Linked DNA regions of Homo sapiens: regions 2 and 3 are each linked to region 1. Evidence: promoter capture Hi-C in 16 types of primary human blood cells and fetal thymus (Javierre and others, 2016). All regions are on one chromosome and are shown on one strand. The core of a region is centred on a gene start or on the middle of the fragment in contact, and the rest is flanking DNA. Distances in the headings are between cores, read along the strand shown. Region 1 holds the start of SLC25A1 (solute carrier family 25 member 1). Region 2 has its middle 55 kb from the start of LINC00895. Region 3 has its middle 72 kb from the start of LINC00895.

Region 1 (3,314 bases), core at 250-2,749:
TGATGGGCATGAATGAGACCCAGCTGATTGCACTAAGTAAGTGTCCCATTTGGAGACTAGCTTATCCTCTAGCCAGGCCAGGTTCTCTGGCTGACCCCACGCTCCTTGCCTCTGGATGCCTGCTCTCTTGGGGCCTCAGCGTCTGGGTGGTAAGGGCTGGTCCTATAGACCCTGCTCCCTGGGCCCCGGGCTACTCAGGGGCAGCCAGGAGAGGACCCCCATGGGCAGGAAGAGCTCTGCTCATTGTGGGCTTCCCCCTCTGCAGGCCCTGCCGTGGGCCCAGCCCCTGCCAGCTTCCCCTATGGATATGCCTCTGCTCCCAACTTCGCCAGCCTCCAATGTACAACTTCCGCGTGTAGTGGGCGTTGTCACCACCCACCCTACCTGCAGAGTTACTAACTTCTCCAAGGAGCATGTCACTCCAGCAGCACAGGGGACGCAATGGGAGGCAGGGACACCTGGACAATATTTATTTTTGCTGAAACCCAATGACGGCAACCTCTGAGCCATCCCAGAGCCTGGGGAGGCCAGGGTAGAGGCTGACGGCGCAAGACCAGCTTTAGCCGACAACAGAGACTGGACTGTGGGCCCTCCTGCTGGAGCCAGGCCTTCCTCCTGGGCGCCTCCGACTGGCTGGAGCTGCCCCCTCCAGGCCAGTTTGAAGACTACATGAACACGTCTTGTTTGGAGGTACCGGACCTCATAAAAGGACTCTCAGCCTCTTGGCAATCATAAATATTAAAGTCGGTTTATCCAGGCAAAGGTGCTCTGCTTGGTGCTGGTATGGGTAGGAGGGACGGGCCAGTTTCCTAGGCCCCGCAGTCCATTAAAGATTTGCTGGGTCCTCTTTGGGGTGTGGGACCTCCGTTGCCCAGACAAGCTGCCTAGGAGAATACAGCCGCTTGCATTTGTGGTCTTTCCTGACCTTGTTCGCTGAGCGCAGAAACTACAACCGGGAAAGGTGTGGGTGGGAACCGGCAGGTGAGGCCCGGCCCGTGGCTGCTGCGGGAGGGGGGCCCGGCGGCGTAGCCCCTTCTCACCGGCCTCCCGCCTCCCGCCTCCAGGTTTGAAACGTTAGAGTTCCTCTGGGACTGGGCTAGCCCCACGTGTTTTCGGGGAGGGTGTGCCCCTGGCCTCCGGGATCCCTGGGGATCCCGCCGCTCTCGACAGTCGCGCAGACCCGAGGCCCGCTATCCCGCGGCGCGGCACACAGTGCACCTTGACCCACTGCTCGGAGCTGGGCCACGGCTCCGCCTCCCGCAGCCCCGCCCCCGTCCCGCCGCTCGCGGTCGCCCAGGGACTCGGCCTCGGCCATTGGCTGCGCTTTGGCCCCGCCCCTACGCCTGCCTCGGCGCGCCCCGCCCAGGCCTCAGTTTCCCGGCCCGCACGGGGCGGGCTGGGGGCGGGGCCTGGCTCGGACCACGCGGGGCGGGACCTGGAGCTGACGCGGCCGCCCCGCCCCTGGGACCATAACCGGCCGCCGCCGCCACCGCGGACCGAGCGCGGAGTTCTGGAGTCTCGGACCCGAAGCCGCCACAGGGCGCCCCGCCTCCCGCCCGCCATGCCCGCGCCCCGCGCCCCGCGCGCTCTGGCGGCCGCCGCGCCCGCGTCCGGGAAGGCCAAGCTGACGCACCCGGGGAAGGCGATCCTGGCAGGTGGGCCCCTCCGGGACGCGGACCCCTCTCCCGCCGCGCTTCTGGGTGGGCCCGGGACGCTGAGGCCCCGCCCCACTTCCGGGTTGGGCCGTGGGCTGGGGAGTCGTGGAGGCGCGGTCCTGGTCCCCACCCGGCGCGCTGGGACTCGCCCGCCTCCCGTCTGTCACCCCCTGCGCCTCGCCGGGACAACGGGGTGAGGGCATGGGGGCGTGGGGCCCCAGCCTATGTTCCCCGCGGCACTGGCGCGGCGGCCGCGCCGACCGAAGTCCGGGACGGGGGAGGGGCCCGAGCGCCAGCGGCCGGGCGGGAGTCTCAGGAGCGGGTTCCCGGTCCCTGCAGGCGGCCTGGCGGGTGGCATCGAGATCTGCATCACCTTCCCCACCGAGTACGTGAAGACGCAGCTGCAGCTGGACGAGCGCTCGCACCCGCCGCGGTACCGGGGCATCGGTGAGGAGGGGGAGGCCGCGGCGCCGCGGGGGGCGGGTACCCAGGGCGGCGGCACCGAGGGCCGTGGGGTCCTGACCGCCCCCTCCCCCAGGGGACTGCGTGCGGCAGACGGTTCGCAGCCATGGCGTCCTGGGCCTGTACCGCGGCCTTAGCTCCCTGCTCTACGGTTCCATCCCCAAGGCGGCCGTCAGGTGAGGCCCGGCCGGTGGCTGCTGCGGGAGGGGGGCTCGGCCGCGGCAGCCCCTCTCACCCGCCTCCCGCCTCCAGGTTTGGAATGTTCGAGTTCCTCAGCAACCACATGCGGGATGCCCAGGGACGGCTGGACAGCACGCGTGGGCTGCTGTGCGGCCTGGGCGCTGGCGTGGCCGAGGCCGTGGTGGTCGTGTGCCCCATGGAGACCATCAAGGTGGGGAAGGTCCTGGCGAGGACCCCGGACACGCAGGGAGTACGGAGACGGGCGGCCCCGCTGGCCCGGTGCTCCCGGGGCAACCGGCAAGCTGGGGAGGGTCTCCTGGACGCCAGGGAAGGCCGGCGGGGTGACCGCGGGGCCCTGGGGCAGGACGCCTGCCACGAAGGGCCACCCGTGGAGGCTGAGTCTATGCTAAAGGCAGCCTTAAAGTCTTTAAAAAATACTTTTATAAAGCAGAAAACAAAATGACACCTTCACTGCCAAAACTGGAAAAGAGCAGCAAACATAAAGGGAGAGGCTGCTCACAGGGCTGCCCTGTGTCCCAGAGCATGGTCCGTGTGGGCTGCCCTGTGTCCCGGGGCATGGTCCGTGTGGGCAGCCCAGGGCGGCCTTGGCTGCACTGCTTCCTGGGGAAGAGTTCCCAGTTCCCTCCACCCTGGATGGGCCCTGGGCCTGCCAGCTAGCCAGGACCCACCCAGGTGGCAGCCGAGAACCTGCGCCTTTGCTTCTCTCTCTCAGGTGAAGTTCATCCACGACCAGACCTCCCCAAACCCCAAGTACAGAGGATTCTTCCACGGGGTTAGGGAGATTGTGCGGGAACAAGGTGAGCCACTCGACCTTCCTGATAGGGCTCAGGGACCTGGGCCAGGGTGGGAAGGGCCTGCACCTCCCATCCTGCCTTGGGCTTTGTGCAACACCCACCCCCCACACACACCAATTCCCAACCGGGGCCTGAGAGGCTGCAGGGTAACCCCGTGCCTGCCTTCCCGCAGGGCTGAAGGGGACGTACCAGGGCCTCACAG
Region 2 (3,526 bases), core at 768-3,267, 440 kb before region 1:
CAGAAGCTCTCACAAGCTTGTATTTCCCCTGGAGCAATGGTTCTGTACTTTCTGGTTAAAAGGTTTAAGATGAGACAGTTCTGAGCAATGATTCTAAATGTCTGCCACATCTCAGACAAGAAACACTTCTCCCTGGAGCACCAGAAAGCACTTAGGATAAGAGGCAGACCCATGTCTCTTCCCCAGGGACTCCTTTCTCCTCTGGAGTCCCTGGAGCACTATGCACACACAACACGCTGCGCTGCATCCCCTTCTCCCTTCCTCCAGCCTCCAGAACCCCCGAGTCCAAAGCCTTGGCTTCAGTGGTCTGTGCCCCAGCATGCCAGCTGGGCAGAGACATTTTTCCTCTTCTCTAAGAGTTAGGAGACAACGTCATTTTAACAAAAGCAGGACACCTGACTCCTTTAAGAGGGCTCGCTGACGACCATAACTACTGAAAATAAAGGAACGTTTCCATGTGAAAGATGCTACTTCCAGAGGAATTGCACTTGACCCCTGGCAGGTGGGGCTGCCAGAGCTGTCTCGGGAGGTCTGCGGGGGTGGGGGGCGCACACACACACACACACACACACACACACACACACACACACACACGGGTCAGATGGGGAGGAGCATGGGATGGGGCTGTCAGCAGGAAGGGTGTGCAGGGGGCAAAGGCGTGTTGTAGGGTCTGGGCTCCTCATCACTGGAGGGGCCTGGGCAGCCTTGGACGCCACCACTTCTGCTTCTGGGAGGTTACAGAGGGATTCCAATGCTGAGCCCCCAGAAGTGACTCAACCAGGCATCCGTTTCTCCAGTCATCATCCTCTGCTTTGGAATTAAACTCTCCCAGGCCTTAGTAAGCAAGAAGACAGCCCTGCAGGTGAACTTGAGGGTGAAGGGCAGGGAGGGTGGAGGGGTTGGTCCTGCCCCCTCCAGGTCCTTGAAGGCTCCAGCTGGAAGCTGCTGGGGCAGGGCCGACTCTCCTGGGAATGGGACCCCACCCCACCAGGTCCAGCCCTTCACTCCTTTTCCTTGCCTAAACTTTTTAACGCCTCTGCCTGGACTTCTCTCGGCCCGAAGATTCCCATCCAGTTCACTGCTATTGTGCGCTGAAAAGCATTTCAGTTCCCTATATGACGCTTTGCTACCCCAACCCTGACTTAGCAGCGCCGTAAGCCACTTCGTAATGTCACTTCTGCCTCTGGTTTCCCTGTTTCTGTTATGGGACCCAGCTGCCTCATAAATGCTTCGCCTGTGATCAGACACAGTTGGGGCTGCCAAGGGCTCTCACCCCAGCAGGGCCTCACCAAACCCTGCAGAGAGGACCCCAGGCATCCAAGAAGAGGCTGGGAAATGCCGAGTGCCACCACCCTGCCGACACCCCACGCTGGCTTCAGGGCTGCTCGGTGTGATTGGTGACACGGAAGGGTGGTCATGCAGCCACACACATCCCCATGGGAATCCGCGGCAGAGGAGGGCAGGCGGGGCACGGGTACATGAAACAGCAGCCTTGACCTTGACTGAGATCGTGGTGATTAAAAGGGCAATTGAAACAATGGGGGGAAAGCCAGAACCAGGGGTGCGAGAATAATCTATCAGGACTCTTACCAGAGCCTTCCTGAAGGGAAAAAGAAATCCAGTAAAAACAAACTCTCCTTCATGGTGGCAACAATGAAACAATCTCGCTTCTCTTGCTCTCAATTTTATTGGCCTCCAAAGTTTCTGTGTTTCTAAAGATTAGCCTTCCCTTGGGAAGTTAGTGGGGGGAAAATAAGCAAATATTAGTTTCCCTCTCGAGAAGTCATTCTTTCGAGCCAGTTTCCCCAGGAGCTCTACAGGGCACAGCTTGTGAAACCTCATTCCAGGCCTTCTCAACTCAAGTGGGGGGAAAGGATTAACAAATATCTTTGAATTCCAGCAAGACAAAACAGGAATGGCCTCAAGCCGGGCTTCCTCCTGCAGCCTCTCCAAGGCTCCTTCTGCCTGGCCCAGAGTCACGGAGGAAGAGCGCCCGTCTTCACGGGCTGCCCTGGCGCTGCATCAGATCCGCCAGGTGGGCCGGGGACAAATCCTGATTTTCACTTCTGATTAGTAATTGTGTGCGAGAGATGTTCCCAGCTAAAATAATATACAATAACTTCCCTAGAGAAAATATACACAGTCAATTTTTGGAATCACTTAACACAACCCTTCACCAAGTGAATGTACAATTGGAACAACATAACACGTTTCCCATGTGGAAGAGAAGGGCTGGTACACGTTGACGTCATCGTGGGAGAGACAAATGTGCCGGTTTTATTAACCCCAGGCCACACGTAGGTGAGCAGTGGGCCATTGTTATGCAACCATTCAGTATTATTTTTCCATAAATCAAGGTAACGCCTAATGAAGTCCGAGTCTTTAAATCAAGCAGCCTTTTCCTATTTGGAACATAAAGTTGGGCTGTTGCCAGGAGCTCCGGGAAGCAGAGGGCCACAAGTAGCGTTTCAATAAGGAACGTAAGTGCCCATTCACCGGCACCGGATGCAGGCTGGTGGGTCAAGCCCACTCGCCAATATTGTCAAGTCAGTCTTAGGGGAGCTTCGCATTAGCACTGACAGTGATGGACTGCAGCTGGGGCTCAAGAGCAGCCCATGCGCTTCTGCTGGGAGAGGGACGTGGGGAACAGGCAGCTGTTTTGGCCTCCCGGGGCTGCCATCACAAAGTGCCACTGGCTGGTGGCCTCACCGCAGACCTTTATTGTCTTATATTCTGCGGGCCGGAAGTCTGGGATCAAGGCGTGGGCAGGGTTATGTCTTCCGGGGACCTTCTCCCGGGCTTGTCGATGGCCGTCTTCTCGCCATGCCCTCAGAGGGTCATCCCTCTGGGCATACCTGTGTCCTAATCTCCTCTCCTTTTTCTTTCTTTATTTAGTTTTAGAGACAGGATCTTGCTGTGTTGCCCAGATTGGAGTGCAGTGGCACAATCATGGCTCACCGAAGCCCCACATTCCTAGTGCTCAAGCGATCCTCTTGCCTCAGCCTCCCAGGCTCCCAAGTAGCTGGGACTACGGGTGCACCTCACCATGCCTGGCTAATTTTTAAAATTTTTTGTAGAGATGGGGGTCTCACCATGTTGCTCAGGCTGGTCTCGAACATCTGGGCTTGAGCAATCCTCCTGCTTTGGCCTCCCAAACTGTTGGGAGCCACCTTGCTAGGCCCTAGTCTCCTTTTCTTATAGGACACCAGTCATACAAGAGTAGGGCCCACCCTCATGACCTCATTTTGAATGAATTACCTGTTTAAAGACCCTCTCTCAGCCAGGTGCAGTGGCTCAGGCCTGTAATCCCAACACTTTGGGAGGCCGAGGCAGGTAGATCACTTGAGGTCAGGAGTTCAAGACCAGCCTGGTGAAATCCCGTCTCTACTAAAAATACAAAAAATTAGCCAGGCGTGGTGGTGCGCACCTGTAGTCCCAGCTACTTAGGAGGCTGAGGCACAAGAATCTCTTGAACCCAGGTGGCAGAGGTTGCAGTGAGCTAAGATTGCACCACTGCACTCCAGCC
Region 3 (3,577 bases), core at 984-3,483, 460 kb before region 1:
TAAAAATCAAATATATTTTCCAACTTTTGATCCATGCAGGGCTTTAAGCAGAAAAAGCTTCTCGTCATCCACAGGGCACACCTGCTTGCCCACCGACCTGCCTGCCACCTGCACTAACGCCACAGGCAGGAAAGCAAGGTCTCCATGAGACAACTGCACACAAGAGATAGTGCACTCACTACTCATAACAGCCAGGGTGCTACGAGTAGGTGGAGGCAACACAAGTGTCCATCAATGGATGAAAGGATAAACAAAATGTGTGTGTGCGGACAATGGAACATCACTCAGCCGTCAAAAGGAGGAAATTCTGGGTCGGGTGCAGTGGCTCACACCTGTTATCCCAGCACTTTGGAGGCTAAGATGGGAGAATTGCAACCTAGCGAGACCCTCTCTCAACAAAAATAAAATGCTAGCCACGCATGGTGGTGCATGCCTATAGTCCCAGCTACTGGGAAGACTGAGGCAGGAGGAGCTCTTGAGCCCAGGAGTTTGAAGCTGCAGTGAGCCATGATCCTACCATTGCACTCCAGCTTGAGTGACAGAGTGAGACCTTGCCAAAAAAAAAAAAAAAAAAAAAAAAAAGAAAGAAGGAATTGTGACACATGTTACAACAGGGATGAACTCTGAGGTCATTATGCTCAGTGAAATAAACCAGTCACAGAAAGACAAATACAAATACTGCATGGTTCCACTTACATGAGGTACCCTAGAGGAGTCAAATCCACGGAGACAGAAATAGAATGGTAGGCGCCAGGGGCAAGGGGAGGAGAATGGGGATGGGGAATGAGTGCTTCATGGGGATAGTTTGTGGTGGGAAGCTGAAGAGTCCTGGAGCCAGATGGTGGAGACGGTTGAAAAGTCCTGGAGACGGATGGTGGAGATGGTGGCACAATCTGTGGATGTGCTTAGTGCCACCCAATTGGTTCAAATGGCCAATGTTGTGTTATATGTATTTTACCACAATCTAAACAATTATTTGAAGTAAAAAATGGAACGTAAATGTGTGTCCTTTTTCTGAGGTGAAGTAGAGCAGCGCCATGCATGTGAGGTTACGGGAGAGCTGGGGTGGCAACAGGGGCCTGGCTACAGATACTAACGCTCTCTGGGCTCTTTGGCCGCGCTGTGGCCGACGGGGCAGCCCGTGTTGGCACTGAGGAGCTGAGTCACAAGGCGTCTCCATCGTGCCTATGGGAGTTTAACTTACAGAGGTGTCAGCACCCACAGAGAGTGGCCAGCGCCACTGAAAGACTTCATTATTCGTATTTCTGGAGAGGAGGGGCACACTCACCCCACCCACAAGGCCACAGTGGGTGACCCAGGTTGGGTCAGGAAGCAGAGAGGAGACAGGGAAAGCTGAGACCAGAGCCTTTCAAGGTGGGGCAGGTGAACAGCTCAGGACCAGCTGGTCTGAATAAGGCTGGCTGGCCAGGGTATAGGGCCATCCCTAGTGCCTGCTGCCTGGCCCTGTGGGATTCAGGGCCCAGGAAATAATGGCTTGGTTGTAAGAGTTAGATAGAGGGGGTGGTTGGGAGTATGGACTTGGGATGGGTTGGTCTGCATGTGAATAAACAGGCTCCCAGGCAAGTTGTTTATCATCTGTAGGATTTAGCTGTCTCTGGGAGGGACAGTCTCTTCCCAGCCAGCCTGGCCTCCCAAGATATCAAAACATCATAACATATAAACAGCATGATTATGCCAGGTGCAGTGGCTCATGCCTATAATTCAAGCACTTTTCAAGGCCGAGATGGGAGGATTACTTGAGGTCAGGAGTTCGAGACCAGCCTGGGCAACAAAGTGAGACCTCATCTCTACTAAAAATAGAAAATTAGTTGGGCGTGGTGGTATGCACCTGTAGTCCCAGCTACTCTGGAGGCTAAGTCAGGAGAATTACTTGAGCCCGGGAGTTTGAGGCTGCAGTGAGCTGTGATCGTGCCACTGCACTCCAGCCTGTGTGACAAAGTGAGACCCTTGTCTCAAAAAGAAAAATAAAAGTCATGATTAGTGCTCACTGGCCACCAGTCCACAGCATCTGTCTGAGCACCCTGGGAGTGCCCAGGGAATGTTTCTAAACCCTCAAGGGTAACACGTGTGAACAACTTGAAAATCTTTACTAGCAGGCCATTGTGCAGACAGATGATCTCTGATGTCGGCTGAACCAGCTCCTGGGCAGACAATCCCTGTCCATTTGACTCAGGCCACCTTGCCTCAGCTTTCTGGGCCTCGAGACCCAAAGTCCACGCACCACATATTTTAATTCATTTCCCTGTTAACAGAACTCCACTCACTGCCTCTGTGAACCTTGCGCCCCCCCTCCCCCAGCCCTGCCCTGCCTTGCACCCCATCAGCACCTTCCGGCTTCCTGGAGGCCTGGGGCCTTGCAGTGCCTCCTCCCGCACATTTCACTGAAGAGGGACTTGCTGGGTTGTGGGCTCCTGAAGACACCCCTGCAGGGAGAGGAGACTCTGGAACTCACCAAGGCCGTGGGCAGTCTCCTGGCTGAGCATGAGGTCTGCTCCAAGCTGGAAAAGCCTTGGCCAGCACAGCACCCTGGGTAGGAACTATTCCATGCCTGCCATTTGTATGTTAGGAGAATCACAAGGTCATCACCTGGCATGCTTAGGTTGAAAAAGAATAACTGCAAAGGGAAGAGGTTAGGAAAAGACCTACTAGAAGTGCTATGTCACCTTCCCATATTCAAGAGCAGGTGCCTGAGATTCTGCTAATTCATGGAGCAAGGAGCCTGAGACCCAGCCCATGCAGGATGCTGGTCCAGATGTCCCTGACTGAGTGCCAGAGCGAACACTGGCACGCTGCAGCTCCTGGCCACTGCCCATGGCTCCTACTCACTGCCTGGGGCCCCTGGCCACTGCCTGGGCTTCCTGTCCACTGCCCAGGGCTCTTGGCTGCTTCCCAGGCCCCCTGACCACTGCCTGGGGCTCCTCCTCACTGCCCTGGGCTCCTGACCACTGCCTGGGGCTCCTCCTCACTGCCCAGGGCTCCTGACCACTGCCTGGGGGTCCTGCGCACTGCCTGGGGCTCCTTTTGTGCCTCCTGGAAGAGCAAAGTCATTGCTTTTGTTACAAGTTCATTGTAGTCACAGAGGTTCCCATTTTTTTCAGAACTTTCTTCTGGATGCAGACACAGTGCTCTTCCTTCCCTGGGGTCCCTCGGGCCCTTCCCCACACATGCTCTGCCGGCATGGCTGAGGGTGCACAGGATGCAGAGCTGAGTGAAATGCACCCCCTGCCTTTGAGGTGCTGAACGTGGCAGAGAATCTCCCCCCCCACCCCCACGGTGCAGATGCTGCATGGGAGGACAGACATGGCACATGGCTGTCTGGCCCAAGACAAGGCCGTGGATGAGGCCTAGGAGAGAAGAGGTAGGGAGGGCATCGAGCTCGGCTTTGCAGACCAAGCAGGGTCTCACCGGAGAGCACGTGGGGCAGGAGGGAGTCAGCCTGGCCCTGTGGCCTCAATCTCAATTCTGTTCAGGAGCCCTCTGCTTAGCACAGCTCAGGGGTGTCAGGTTCGGGCCTCCACCCAGTTCGGGTGACCCCTGTCCCCTGCCAGTGACTGCT

What was found. Contacts are between HindIII fragments. The CHiCAGO score rates a contact against its expected background, and 5 or more counts as called.
Region 2: a fragment that was not itself captured here is called in contact with the fragment with the promoter of SLC25A1 in region 1 in 4 of 17 cell types (total B cells, activated CD4 T cells, naive B cells and 1 more); the score reaches 11.5 in total B cells.
Region 3: a contact is called between a fragment that was not itself captured here and the fragment with the promoter of SLC25A1 in region 1, in 1 of 17 cell types (erythroblasts). The highest score is 6.2, in erythroblasts.

The regions. Positions count from the first base shown.
Region 1 is chr22:19,176,921-19,180,234 of GRCh38, reverse strand. SLC25A1 (solute carrier family 25 member 1) reads left to right here and starts at 1,499. Exons shown (of 9, transcript NM_005984.5): 1 at 1,499-1,655; 2 at 1,995-2,102; 3 at 2,194-2,293; 4 at 2,370-2,508; 5 at 3,031-3,115; 6 at 3,285-3,314. The coding sequence starts at 1,562. CLTCL1 (clathrin heavy chain like 1) reads left to right here. Exons shown (of 33, transcript NM_007098.4): 32 at 1-36; 33 at 266-762. The coding sequence ends at 16. RefSeq lists silencers at 903-1,002, 1,203-2,282 and an enhancer at 1,454-2,201. The HindIII fragment of the contact is 6,402 bases long and covers 1-3,314 here.
Region 2 is chr22:19,619,977-19,623,502 of GRCh38, reverse strand. No RefSeq gene overlaps it. Among named protein-coding and RNA genes, the nearest start is that of LINC00895, 55 kb to the right of the region's middle. RefSeq lists an enhancer at 2,411-3,172 and a silencer at 3,523-3,526. The HindIII fragment of the contact is 3,998 bases long and covers 19-3,526 here.
Region 3 is chr22:19,637,489-19,641,065 of GRCh38, reverse strand. No RefSeq gene overlaps it. Among named protein-coding and RNA genes, the nearest start is that of LINC00895, 72 kb to the right of the region's middle. The HindIII fragment of the contact is 4,348 bases long and covers 60-3,577 here.